Regions from separate parts of the Homo sapiens genome. Here all the other regions are linked to region 1. The links are contacts of gene promoters, found by promoter capture Hi-C in human tissues and cell types (Jung and others, 2019). All regions are on one chromosome and are shown on one strand. The core of a region is centred on a gene start or on the middle of the fragment in contact, and the rest is flanking DNA. Distances in the headings are between cores, read along the strand shown. Region 1 holds the start of SNUPN (snurportin 1). Region 2 has its middle 33 kb from the start of UBE2Q2. Region 3 has its middle 4.8 kb from the start of UBE2Q2.

Evidence for each region. The method cuts DNA at HindIII sites, captures the fragments that hold promoters and counts their contacts. A contact is called where the count stands out against the background at its distance.
Region 2: a contact is called between a fragment that was not itself captured here and the fragment with the promoter of SNUPN in region 1, in 1 of the 25 tissues and cell types used here (mesenchymal stem cells).
Region 3: a contact is called between a fragment that was not itself captured here and the fragment with the promoter of SNUPN in region 1, in 3 of the 25 tissues and cell types used here (IMR-90 fibroblasts, dorsolateral prefrontal cortex and spleen).

What each region holds. Positions count from the first base shown.
Region 1 is chr15:75,623,030-75,627,977 of GRCh38, reverse strand. SNUPN (snurportin 1) reads left to right here and starts at 2,253. Exons shown (of 9, transcript NM_005701.4): 1 at 2,253-2,312. RefSeq lists an enhancer at 1,885-2,074 and a silencer at 2,725-2,774. The HindIII fragment of the contact is 13,243 bases long and covers 1-4,948 here.
Region 2 is chr15:75,808,496-75,812,936 of GRCh38, reverse strand. No RefSeq gene overlaps it. Among named protein-coding and RNA genes, the nearest start is that of UBE2Q2, 33 kb to the left of the region's middle. The HindIII fragment of the contact is 6,763 bases long and covers 1-4,441 here.
Region 3 is chr15:75,836,231-75,840,996 of GRCh38, reverse strand. No RefSeq gene overlaps it. Among named protein-coding and RNA genes, the nearest start is that of UBE2Q2, 4.8 kb to the left of the region's middle. The HindIII fragment of the contact is 6,022 bases long and covers 1-4,766 here.

The DNA of each region.
Region 1 (4,948 bases), core at 1,004-3,503:
CTGAGATTCCAGAGGTAGCCCCTTCTGAAACACCCACTGGCTCTAAATGAACCCCTGGGCCAGGTGCTCTGGTTTTTGTTTGTTTTGAGACAGAGTCTCCAGGCTGAGTGCAGTGGCAGGATCACAGCTCACTGCAGCCATGACTTCCTGGGCTCAAGTGATCCTCCCACCTCAGCCTTCCAAGTAGTTGGGATCATGACTCATACCACTACACCTAGCTAATTTTTTTTTTGTGGAGATGGGTTTTTGTCATGTTGCCCAGGCTGGTCTCAAACTCATGGGCTACTTCCACCTTGGCCTCTCAAAGTGGTGGGATTACAGGCATGAGCCACAGTGCCTGACCTGGTTTTGTTTTGTTTTTTCAGTGATATGGGAAGTTATTCAGCTAGGTGTGAGTGAGGAACTAGAACATTTCTCCTGGACCTCCAGGCATGAATTTGGGAACTTCTTTCTCAGTCTCAGTCTATTTTCCTAAAATGTTTAAGGTCTTTATTCTTTTCTATGCAGCCCGACCATTAGATGTGACCTCCGTGGTTGTAAGGGATGGTTGTTTGGACACAAAATACCTAATATCCTGGGTGTCAAAATTCCCTAGTGAAGTCAGGCCCTGGACTTCTCTTTTTTGTCAGTCTCATAAATCAGGCAGACATGAGCTTTTATTTGTGGATGCACCAAATAAATACCCTAGTGGACAGCTTTGCTCAGCCTGGCCACTGAAAGAGCCACCTAAATAAAATCTCAGGTCCAGGCCGGGTGCGGTGGCTCACGCCTTTAATCCCAGCACTTTGGGAGGCCGAGGCGGGCAGATCATGAGGTCAGGAGATCGAGACCATCCTGGCTAACACAGTGAAACCCCGTCTCTACTAAAAATACAAAAAAATTAGCCGGGCATGGTGGCAGGCGCCTGTAGTCCCAGCTACTCAGTAGGCTGAGGCAGGAGAATGGCGTGAACCCGGGAGGCGGAGCTTGCAGTGAGCGGAGATTGCGCCACTGCACTCCAGAGCCTGGGCGACAGAGCGAGACTCCATCTCAAAAAAATAAAAAAAAATCTCACGTCCAGAAAAATTGGCCTTCCAGGGCCCCAGAACCCTTTTTACCAGTCTAGTAATAGCCTTTCATCAGCCTAATTTCCTATTCTTTTTAGTCTGAATGTATGGTGTAATGTGCATAAAATACACAAGTCCAAATTTTAGCATTCCGTGGACGCAAAATGTGCCAAAGGTGGATACTTTGCTTCTGTCATACATCGGTAGTCAACTTCCCTATACATCAAACTTTCAGCAAATTCAAACATTTTCCTTGAAAGCTGTGTTACTTTGGCCAAATTACTTAACCTCTCTGAGCTTCAGTGTGTCTACTTCCTCATGTCATGATTAAGAGTTAATATCTACTGGCTTAAAAAAGAAAAAAAAGGAAAAAAATTAAATGAGATGATGGGTGTGAAGCAGGGATTGGCTGAATGTAAGCATTCAATAAATATTCAGTTTTAAAATTGTAATCTCAGCCTTCCCGCCCTGCAGAGGCTACACCCTGGCAGGACTTAATCTCCTAAATCTCTGCCGCTTACCCTAGTCTTTTGCACCAATTTAATCATTCCTTCACGCAGGGTCTACTGAGCGCCATCCCTTGTGCTGGACTCTGGCTACTTAAATAGGAATCAAGCCAGGTCCCTACCATTGCTCAGCCCGCAGCCGAGTGGGAAAGAAGCTCGCAAAAGCAGCAAACAGGCAGTAATCGAGGTATGTATCTGCTTTTGTTAAGGGCAAGTGGGGGAGCGAAGGTCTGTGTCTGAAACTTGGGTGTGAGGGGTTAGTTGGAGTAATCCAGGCAATTGGCACTGCCCGTTTAAGAGCACGGGCCCAAGAGGGGAAGGGGACTCCAGGTGAAGCCCTAAGGCCCGGGAAGATCTGCGGGAGGCGGCAGGGCCCAGGGCGTTGAATGCCCGGCCACAAGATCAGCCTCCTCCCATTGGCGAAAGGAGCCCCGAAGAGCTTGTGTTCAGGAGGGAGGCCTCGGCCTGGTCAAGTCATCTAGCAGGAAGAGTCCCGGACAGTGCAAAGCAAATGCAAGAAGACCCCCTCCCTAGCCGATGGGAAATGCCCCAGCCGTTGAAGGCGGAAATAACGGCCTGTAGGCAACGGAACTCCCAGCGTTCGCAAAGGAGGGAGGAGCCGGAAACTCAGGGCGCGAGGCCTGTGGGCCCAGCGGTGAGGCAGCAGCTGGGGGCGGGGGGAGGGCGGACCTAGCTTCCCAGGGCAGGTGATTCGTCGGCCCCGGTGGCGGCGGCGCGTGCGACGGTCACCTCGGTTTGGGTGAGTCCCTGGGTTCGAGCCCGGGCCCCGCCAGCTGCCGAGTTGCCTCTCGGTGCCGGACTGTGACTCCCTCTGGCCGGCCCTGCACTCTGGCCTCCTGGGACGTCATCTGGAGGGATAGAGCCAGGCCTGGGACTCCTTTTGGGAGAGTTTCCGTTCTTCTATTCCGTGCTGTCCGGCCAGGACCCCTCAGGGACTTCTGTGGGGCAGGGGCGAATCATGCATGGCCTAGATGACCCCATGCCTAGAAAAAGGCAGTGCGGGGCGGTGGCGGCGCGCACGGCCGAGTGAAGCAGATAGCGTCCCCGGGGCTGGAGCCCGGTAGCAGGGGTAGGGAAACGCGGAGGCTGCCAGGATGCGGACCCAGGGGACGCGAGGCGGGGGCGCCGGATGGGGAGACGCGAAGGAGGGGGAAGGGGATGGGGGAGGGGGCTAGACAGGGAGGGAGGGTGGAGCGTGGGCGGGGCCTGGGGCGGGTCGGACTTTAGGGAGTTGGAGCGGGGGTTACTGGTGCTAAGACCACCTGGGGCTAAGGTCCGAACACTTGGAGGCAGCACCATCCAAGGAATGGGTTGAAACAGCAGGAGCCCGGCGGGGCGCAGTGGCTCACGCCTGTAATCCCAGCACTTTGGGAGGCCGAGGTGGGCGGATCACCTGAGGTCAGGAGTTTGAGACCAGCCTGACCAACATGGTGAAACCCCATCTGTACTAAAAATACAAAAAAAATTAGCCGGGCGTTGTGGCGCGTGCCTGTAATCCCAGCTACTCGGGAGGCTGAGGCAGGAGAATCGCTTGAATCCGGGAGATGGAGGTTGCAGTGAGCCGAGATCATGCCACTGCACTCCAGCCTGGGCAACAAGAGCGAAACTCTGTCTCAAAAAAAAAACAACAACAACAAAGAAAAAACAAAACGAAACAGCAGGAACCCGCCAAGAACAGCCTTGAAGGAAGGTAAAGGAACCGCCCCAGTATCCAGGACATCAGTTTTTCTTTTTTTTTTCTTTTTGAGACGAAGTCCAGGCTGGAGTGCAGTGGCACGATCTCGACTCACTGCAAGCTCCGCCTTACGGGTTCAAGCCATTCTCCTGCCTCAGCCTCCCGAGCATCTGGGACTACAGGCGCCCGTCACCATGCCTGGCTAATTTTTTTGTATTTTTTTTTTTTTTTTTAGTAGAGACGGGGTTTCACTGTGTTAGCCAGGATGGTCTCGATCTCCTAACCTCAGGTGATCTGCCCGCTTCAACCTCCCAAAGTGCTGGGATTACAGGCGTGAGCCACCGCGCCAGGCCCAGGACATCAGTTTCAAAGGTTGTGTGGTTCTTGGCAGAGCGGGAGCCCACACCAAGATAGTGCATGATAGGCCTAATAAAGGTGCTTTGGATTTGGTCATTACTTTGGTGATGAACTGAAAACATAATGACTTTTTAAAAATTTTTATCGGCCGGGCGCGGTGGCTCACGCCTGTAATCCCAGCACTTTGGGAGGCCGAGGCGGGCGGATCACGAGGTCAGGAGATCGAGACCATCCCGGCTAAAACGGTGAAACCCCGTCTCTACTGAAAATACAAAAAATTAGCCGGGCGTAGTGGCGGGCGCCTGTAGTCCCAGCTACTTGGGAGGCTGAGGCAGGAGAATGGCGTGAACCCGGGAGGCGGAGCTTGCAGTGAGCCGAGATCCCGCCACTGCACTCCAGCCTGGGCGACAGAGCGAGACTCCGTCTCAAAAAAAAAAAAAAAAAAAATTTTATCATGAAAGCTTTCAAACTTACACAAAAGTACAGAAAAGTAGAGACAATAGCATACATACCATTATGGATGATTTGAATAACATACCATATGGATCCCAAGCACTCATCATGAGGCCTCAGTCACTCAGGAATGGCAACCCTTGGTTGCATTGCAAAGATATTAAGGCACACCTCAAGCCGGGTGCAGTGGCTCATGCTTGTAATTCCAGCACTTTGGGAGGCTGAGGCAGGCAGATCACTTCAGGTCAGGAGTTTCAGACCAGCCACGCCAACATAATGAAACCTCTTCTCTACTAAAAATACAAAAATTAGCCGAGCATGGTGGTGCATGTCTATAATCCCAGCTACTCAGGAGGCTGAGGCAGGAGAGTTACTTGAACCCAGGAGGTGGAGGCTGCAGTGAGCCGAGATCACACCACTGTAGTCCAGCCTGGGAGACAAAGTGAGACCCTGTCTCAAAAAAAAAAAAAAGGCCGGGCGTGGTGGCTCACACCTGTAATCCCAGCACTTTGGGAGGCCAAGGTGGGCAGATCAGGAGGTCGGGAGATCGAGACCATCCTGGCTAACACGGTGAAACCCCGTCTCTACTAAAAAATACAAAAACAAAATTAGCCGGGCGTGGTGGCGGGCGCCTGTAATCCCAGCTACGCGGGAGGCTGAGGCAGGAGAATCACTTGAACCTGGGAGGCGGAGGTTGTGGTGAGCCAAGATCGTGCCATTGTGCTCCAGCCTGGGCAACAAGAGTGAAACTCTGTCTCAAAAAAAAAAAAGTTTCTTTTATGTTTAAAGGTTACAGAGGTTCAGTTATTCAAGATAAAAGGAGTTCTGGAGAGTTCTGCACAGCAGTGTTGAACATACTTAACTTTACAGAACTGTACACCTACAAATGG
Region 2 (4,441 bases), core at 588-3,087, 190 kb before region 1:
CCCCAAGATCATGTAAATATTCTTTTTTTATGTTTTCTCCTAGTTAGTATGTTTACAGTTTTATTTGTTAACATCTTTACAACAACTGGAATTCATTTCTGGCATGAGGTTTAAAGTAGTAATGATTCTAACTTAATTTTTTTCCAGGTAGTTAATTAATTGCTCTAACAAAACTTATTGAATAATTCTTCTTTGCTCAAGAGGTCTTAATGCCACCTTTATCACACGCTAAAACAATATATTCTTATAAAAATTCAGGTTTGTGGCCAGGCGTGCTGGCTCATGTCTGTAATCCTAGCACTTTGGGAGGCCGAGGTGGGTGGATCATGAGGTCAGGAGTTCAAGACCAGCCTGGCCAAGATGGTGAAACCTCATCTCTACTAAAAATATAAAAATTAGCTGGGCGTAGTGGCAGGCACCTGTAATCCCAGCTACTCAGGAGGCTGAGACAGGAGAATTGCTTGAACCCAGGCAGCAGAGGTTGCAGTGAGCCAAGATCACACCACTGCACTCCAGCCTGAGTAATAGAGTGAGACTCCATCTCCAAAAAAAAGAAAAGAAAAACCTTCAGGTTTGTTTCTGGACTTCCTATTCTGTTCCATGATTTCTGATCTCTTCTGAATTCTAAAGCTGTTCTATTCCAACAAGGGTCCCCAAATTCTCAGAAATAGAGTTTGCATTGCTTTGGCGATCTCTGTTCAAATTCTTATCTCTTATGTTAGACTGTGAGTTCCCTGAGGGAAGGGTCCTGTCTCACTCCTCTGTGTACCCCAAGAGCCTAGTGTGGTATAATGAAGGAAGGGCACAACAGCACCACGGTGAAGTGAGGAAGCCCCAAGCTTAGGGGCACCAGATTGAGCAAAGAAAACTATAGGATATGCAGTTAACCTACAATATCAGATAAACAGCAAATAGTTTTTTTGTATGAGTATATCCCATGCAATGTTTGGGATATACTTATCCTAAAAGTTATCCAGACATCTCCACTGAAACACTCATCCTCCTCAGACCTCACACCCCTGCTTACCATGAGATCCAAGCTGGAAAACCAGGAATGCATTTTTTACATGCCAAATGCCACAGCTCAAGTTAGAAGCACCCAACTGACTGGGTGTGAGAGTGGGGAATATGGCCTCCTATGCCTGCAGAGGCAGCGTCCCATGCCAAGAAGGGACTGACTCACTGCTGTTCCTCCATAAGGCTCGCTGCCACAACCACTTGCACCATGCGCCATGTCCCTGTCCCATATCCCCATTCCCCAGAGGCCTTGAGCCAAGTGGAGCAGGGCAGACACTGTATGATCCCACAGCTGACTGTTCATAGTCTCTAACCTTTCCTTCTCTTATAAAAGGAAAACAGGGCACTCCTCTGATGCCACCCAGCATGTGATACCCGCCTGGACACATCCAGGAAACACTCAAGCCATGCTGGGGAGGCAGTCATCCTGTTTCTCATGTTTATCCACACACTTCCACAGGGGCTGCAAGTCTACACAACCTAGACACTTGGTCCAAATGGCCCCTAGTTTGTGCCAGGCACAGTGCTAAGCATTTGGGTTACAACGATGAACAAAAACTGGCCTGGTCCTTGATGTTATGGAGCTTACAGTCTAGTAGGGGAGATGGCCATAAATCACGTGATCAAAATTTATTTAATTGAAAAAGTATAAAGAGATATAAGAGCATATAGTGAGGGACCTAATCTGATGGGGTGGGTAGTCAACACCCCAAATAAGGGATATTTGAGAAGGCATTCACTGTCAAAGAGAAGTGTTTCTGGCAGAGAGAACAGCATGTGCAAAGGTCCTGAGGTAGGAGGGAGGGAACCCTCAGGGATCTGAGGTGATAGAGGGAGTAAGAGAGAAAGAATGAAGCAAAAGGTGGCTGCAGAGGCAGGCAGGGGCCAGATCCTGCAGGCCAAGGGTGAGTCAAAGCCATTGCAGAATTTAGCAAGAGAGTGACTTAATAATATTGGGCTTTTAAAGATGAATATGGCTGCAATACCAGAATGGCTGGTTGGAAGAGGCCAAAGTGGAAGCTACTGGGGATGTCTGTGTAAGAGCTGACAGTGACCTTGTGGTGGAAATGGGGCACAAGAGAGGGAGACTGTGCTGGGCTTCATCATGGTTGAATGCAGGAGAGAAAGGAAGTATCAGGGAGATGCTGGCACAACCAGGGAAGACTTTCATCACCCACTGGGTACGGGGGAGGGTGGTTAACCTGTGGGGAGAAGCAGGGCACTTATCCAGGGTGGAAAAGAGAGAGAGTGAGGAGAAGGAGCAGGAGTAAGAGAGCTAAAGCTGAGAACTCAAAGGACCAAGGAGAAGCTACAGGGCCAGCTCACAGAAATGGCGCGGAAGGAACTCACTTGTTGCCCCAGCTTTCTCTCATTTCAGTCTCAAAGAGATCTTGCCGGTTAGGCGGACACTTTCTCCACTTCGCAGGGTAACCAACTATGGATCAGATCTTCTTCTGACATCACAGAGCTGGGACTTGAATGCAAGTCTGTGTAACTACAAAGCCCACACTCTGCTCTCTGCCAGGAGCCCCACTCCTGCCCCGATCCCTGGGCCGATGAGTTATATCGAGGCCTATAGCCAAAATGAAGGCTCAAAGATTCCCCAGCAGGGGAAGAAAGTGGCTGGGTGGGAGGGCTAATTCTCAATTCCTGTAGTTCATTCAGATCCTGGAGCCTGGGGGAATATGGGAAAACCAAGGCAGACACAACGTGGAGAAAGCAAAGGTCAGTATTTCTCTACCCTGGCTGCACAGTGCCATCATCAGGTGAGCTGTGAAAATTCCTGGTGCCCAGGCCATCCCCCACCAATTAGCTCAGAATCTCTAGGGTGGGGCTTGGGCATCAGAATGTTTTCAAGCTCTCCAGGTGATGCCAAGCTCTCCAGGTGCAGCCAGGTTGAGAACCATGGGCATATCAGCCCCTCTCCTGAGACCTACTCTATCTCAGTCTAGACTTATCTTGGAAGGGCCTCCCATAACTGTATTTGGGGCCACACTGCCCAGGATCCCAGCCTAATCTGAGTTTAGGTCCTAATTAAGATCTTTAGAGACCCAAGACACTGCAAAATTATTGTGCAGAGCTCCTCTCTTTCTTTTCTTTCTTTCTTTCTTTCATTCATTCGTTCTTTCTTTCTTCTTTCATTTTCTTTCTTTCTTTGCCTTTCTTTCTTCCTTTTCCTTTTTTTTTTTTTTTTTTTTTTTGAGACAGTTTCTCTCTGTCATCAGGCTGGAGTGCAAAGATGCGATCACAGCTCACTGCAGCGTCAACTTACCAGACTCAGATGAATCTCCCACCTCAGTCTCCTGCACAGCTGGGACCATAGGCACATACCACCACATCTGGCTAATTTTTGTATTTTTTGTAGAGATGGGGTTTCACCAAGTTGCCCAGGATGATCTTAAACTCTTGGGCTCAAGCAATCCTCTGCCTCAGCCTCCCAAAGTGCTGGGATTACAGGCATAAGCCACCACACTCAGCTCCCCTTTTTCTTAAGTAATTCTAAATAAAAACAAGACTAAATTATAAAATAAAATTTGACATGGGCATTTTTGGAGAAATGACACAAAACTTCCATGATAGCTGAAATTAAAATATTTATTTTTGGATTTTCTATTTGTGTGTGCACACAGGTACACACTTGTCCTTGGTTGGTGCCCTATGTGTGTACTTGCTCTATGTAGTAGGTTAATCTGCACAGAGTCTGAAGGCACAATTTTCAGTAAACGAAAGCTCTACATAGCACAATTTCCAAGCAGTTGAGACTGAAGCAGCAGTCTCCTTCTGGGTTTAATTTGAATTAACTCATTATGTCAGAGGTTGCAAATGTTTTTCTGTGAAAAATCAGACCTTGGCGATGACACTGAGCAGTAGGATATAAATAACTCCACAAGCTTAGCGTTCCAGTAATGGAACGCTAAGCATAAATGTGTAAACTGCCAGGATGTACTTGTGCAGGAAACTGACAATTTTCAGCAAGAAATCTTCAGATGAGGCTTGTCACTCTCCAGTGTAACTCTAGGGCCTGCTTGGCAGGGGGACCAGCTTTGGCTGGAGGCTGGGTCAAAACGGCGGCCCTGGGATGGCACCTTCCCATCCCATGGAGGGAGCTCTGTTGGGAACATGAGACAGACCAAGAAGACTCATCCATTAGGAAAGCGGCCCTTGGCCTGTCCGGTTTTAATGGAGGAGGGTGCTTGGTGCAATGACCACTTCTGATGGGGAAACTAGTTGAAGACATGGGCATTGTCTTTCCCATGTGTGCCCCACTGGGAGCCTAAACTTGATGGGTGAAAAGTTCCAAGAGATGAATCAAGAGCACTATATATATCTCGGCCGTCCAGGCTGGGCTCCTCCCACCACCCCTCAGTCCTGCCCTCTGGAACCCTTAGCAGGCTGGCAGAAGCCCTTTTTGGGGTCCAGACTT
Region 3 (4,766 bases), core at 733-3,232, 210 kb before region 1:
CAAATTCTTTCCATCTCTTTTGTTGGGTTGAGAGCAAGGTGGCTGTAGCTGTTCTTGCAGTTCACATCCAGACATGAAAATATCCAGAGGCAGAAAGGACATTTTCTTCTATGTTTCCTTCTAACACATGGGAAGCTTTCCAAGAATCTTCCCAGCAGACTTCCCTTAGTGTGTCCTTGGCCAGAAGTGTGTCACATGCCCACCCCTAACCAATCACAGAGAAGTAGATGGGATTACTCTGGATTTCCAACCTGCTGGGATGGAATGGTTGCTGGGGAGTCACCATAGTCTTACACAGACAAGTAAAGACAACATCAGATCATATGTGATATGAGGTTCAAACTACTGAACTACATTTCAGGGGAGGAAGAAACTAATTCCATGAATTATTTGCATGAAAGTAGGGCCATATTCAGAGGATATTCAAGAGCCCATTTGATTGTAGAGTACAGCAAGGGGCCAAGAGAAAGATAAAGTTGAGATATTACTTTTGATCAGATTTTGAGCCCTGAAATACCATGCCACAGACTATAGTATAATAGTTTCATTTGGTGAGAGGCATCACTTTTTTTTTTTTTTCGAGATGGAGTCTCGCTCTGTCACCAGGCTGGAGTGCAGTGGCACAATCTCAGCTCACTGTAGCCTCTGCCTCCTGGGTTCAAGTGATTCTCCTGCCTCAGCTTCCCGAGTAGCTGGGACTACAGGCATGCACCACCGTGTCCAGCTAATTTTTGTATTTTCACTAGAGACAGCGTTTCACTATGTTAGCCAGGATGGTCTCGATCTCCTGACCTCATGATCTGCCCGCTTTGGCCTCCCAAAATTCTGGGATTACAGGCGTGAGCCACCGCGCCTGGACAAAAGTCATCACTTTTTTTTTCTTTTTTTTTTTTTTGAGATGGATTCTCGCTCTGTCGCCCAGGCTGGAGTGCAGTAGCACGATCTTGGCTCACTGCAAGCTCTGCCTCCCGGGTTCATGCCGTTCTCCTGCCTCAACCTCCCAAGTAGCTGGGACTACAGGTGCCCGCCACCACGCCCAGCTAATTTTTTGTATTTTTAGTAGAGACAGGGTTTCACTGGAGTAATCACTTTTAAGATTAATCTGGGCCAGGTACAGTGGCTCATACCTGTAATCCCAGCACTCTGGGAGGCTGAGGCAGACGGATTGCTTGAGTCCAGGAGTTCGAGACCAGCCTGGCCAACATGGCGAAAACCCATCTCTACTAAAAATACAAAAAATTAACAAGGCATGGTGGCACGTGCCTGTAGTCCAGCTACTCGGGGGGTGAGGTGGGAGAATCACCGGAGCCCAGGGGGTCGAGGCTGCAGTGAGTCAAGATTGCACCACTGCACTCCAACCTGGGCAACCAGAGTGAGACCCTGTTTCAAAACAAAACAAAAACAAAAAAAAAAACAAAAAAAGAAAGATTAATCTGGCATTCATATATAAAATGGATTATAGTGGGCTTAGAAGTATGCAGCCACCGAAAAGAAGCAAGAGACCTGGATTCTACATCTGGCCTGCCATTAATTCAATGGGGCAAGTCATACTCAGCTCTGAGGCTCCTTAGCTGCAAACAATGAAGAGCCTTTGAATCAGTCTGAGTCAAGAGTGAAAAAAATTGAAGTACGGGAAATGGCAGTAGAAAGAACCACACTAGGGAATCAGTGTGGAGTAGAACTGCTAGATCTTAGAAATGACGGGAGGATAGAAGGAGAGAGGGGAAATTTGTTTAAAGTAACACTTTGAAATTTCTAGAGCAGATGGCAGGGAGGGAGTGATGCCATTGACACATCAAGAAAAAGATGTTGAATTTGGTGTGCTGATGGAACGTAGGTAGAGAGTTTGTATCTTAAGTTTGAAGTTTATGAGGGAAGTCAGAGCAAAGGACACATAATTGGGTCAGCCACACAGGTGGGTGATGGTGGAAGCCATGCCATAGGTGTGATCATTGAGTCACAAGGGAGGGAAGACAACCTGGGATGTTGAAGGGACCCTGAGGAAGGCTCACCATTGGTGCTTGAGTGGGAAAAGAGTCATTTGAAGAAGTCAGAGGATGACTCATGTTGAATTTTTATGGAAGGGACAAGTTAGTTCAGGACCAAGAAAAGGCCATAGGCTTTAGGGATTAGAAGGTCAGTGGTGCTTCAGAGAAAACCATTGCAATAGCATGGTGGGCATGAGGTCAAAGTGATGTTAAAGTGAAGAGAATGTACCTAGTCTACTTTCTTGAAAAGTTTCAGGGTGTTGAGAAAGAGAAATGGAATAATGGTTTGCAATAGCAAAGCAAAGGGAAGCTTTTGTGTTTGGTTAGGTTTTTATTATAGGACAGACAGAGATGGACTCACTATGAAATAAGCTTCAGGGCCCCTCGCAGTTACACAGCCCCCTTCTAAGTAAGTATTAACTTTTCCCCCTTAATTTGATATTTGTAATTTTGTATTTTTTTTTGAAGAAGAAGAAGACTCCCAAGATTAAATAAGCTTTAGGCCCTGAAAACCCTGGATCTACCTCTAAGGAGAGAACCATTAACAGGCAATGAAGACTGGATACGAGAGAGGAGAAAAAGCATGCTACTGGGTCCTGGAAGGGAAGAGAAAACATGGGATAAAGAGTTACTCATAGAAAGGAATGCCCCCTCCATAGAGGATAGGGTTGGGGGAGAGAATTGGGGAAGACACAAAGAAATGTTGAGTTAGACTAGAGAGTTGTTGAGAGACCTCATACTGAATGGATAACATGAATTTCAGCAAAACAAGATTGGGGATTAGTACGATAGATAAAAACAGAAGCCAGAGGACAAAGAAGTACTAAAAAAAAAAAAATCTGCTTGAAAACTCTGATCTTGGAGTCTCATCTAGAAGTGCATAAAGGACCGTGAGACTAGGATGGGTTGGGAGGCTGGAAGTCTCCAGGAAGACAGAGCAGGTTCAGTGTGAAAGGAAATATGAGAGCTGCCACAGCCTGCACAGTGGAAGAATTTCAGACTTCAAGAACTTGAATGCATGCAGCCATAAACAAAGAACAAGATCATGTCTTTTGCAGGAACATGGATGGAGCTGGAGGCCATTATCCTTAGCAAACTAATGCAGGAACAGAAAACCAAATACCGCATGTTCCCACTTATAAGTGGGAGCTAAATGATAAGAACACATGGACACAAAGAAGGGAACAAAAGACACTGGGGTCTACTTGAGAGTGAAGGGTGGGAGGAGAAAGAGGAGCCAAAAATATAACTATTAGGTACTGGGTTTAATACCTGGGTGATGAAATAATCTGTACAATAAACCCTATGACATGAGTTTACCTATGTAACACACCTTCACATGTACTCCTGAACCTTAAATAAAAGATTTTTTTAAAAAAAGAACATGAATGTGGAAGAATGCCCAATTATATGTTCCATGCTATTCTGGTCTAACATATTCTTTAAGGCCGTGTTCAAATGCCATCTCCTTCAGTGAGCCTTCCCTAGTCCCCTATATTGAATTTTAGTCCCTCCTTTTCCTGAATTTCCCAGTACCTTGTCTATTACAGCACTTATTTAACTCTGCCTTTGTTATGACTAGCTGGTTTCTCATTTGTCTCCTCTGCGAGATTATGAACAACTTGTCCTAATCCTCTTCATGTCTGTAGCACATAGCCTGGTTCCTGGGACATAGAAAGCACCCACTAAATGATCGTTACGTGAATATAGCCTACTGAAGGTGAAACCCATGTAACATCCTTACTTAGAAAGACTGCAAGTAAATTGTGAGAGAAGTGATCTAGTTTGACTAAAATGTCAGGGAAGTGGTGAGGACCTCTCCCTGTCTAAAGTGAGCACACATCAGCATGTGGCCACTAGGCCCAGACAACCACAGCACTACCCAGGAGGCACAGGAAACTGAGCCCATCCCTGTTGAAATGAACAAGTGACTCATTATTCAACTGCAGCCAACTCAGCCAGAAAGTTTTTCTAAGCTACAATTTTCACAAGTTTGGACTCTGGCTTATAACAAAACTCCTATCTTTGATTTTAGTTTTAGTTAGCAACACTCATCATTTCTCTCTTGCCTGTATTATAAAGGGCTTTCAGACCAAGATGTAAACACCTTGAAGTGGTATGAATTTGGGATATATGCATATGAATGTTATTCTGGGGAGAAGATCTAAAGCACCACTGTCCAATAGAACTTTCTGCAATGATGGAAAGGTTCTATGCCTGCCACAATATGGTAGCCACTAGCCTCAGGTGGTTACTGAGCACTTGAAAAGTGGTTAGTGTGACTAAGGAACTGAATTTTGTATATGTGCTGTCTAAGCAAGCACTGAGGAACTGAATTTTGATTTTATTTAATTGTAATTAATTTAAATTTAAGTAGCCACGTGTGACTGCTGCCTACCATATTGGATAGCACAACACTAGATAATTCTATCATTTTATAATAATATCACATAGAGCTTGATATAGCCATGTCCATCCTTCCTTACCCCTTGAGAGCAGTGACGAGATGTTACTAATTATATCCTCAGTGCTCAGCACATACTTGCCTGACACATACTCAGTTCATAATAAATGTTAAATGAATGAACAAAAAAATTTCACATTTTCTCTGAACTTAGTTTTCTCATTTCCAGAATACAGAGGGTGTGTTCTGAGATTTCTTCTGGCTCAAAAAAAAAAATTCTCTTTAAAAATATTTGTTTGTTCAACACATATTTGTTGAACACCTGCTATGTCCTAAACTACTACTTCTTTGTAGCAACCTAGGAAACCATCATT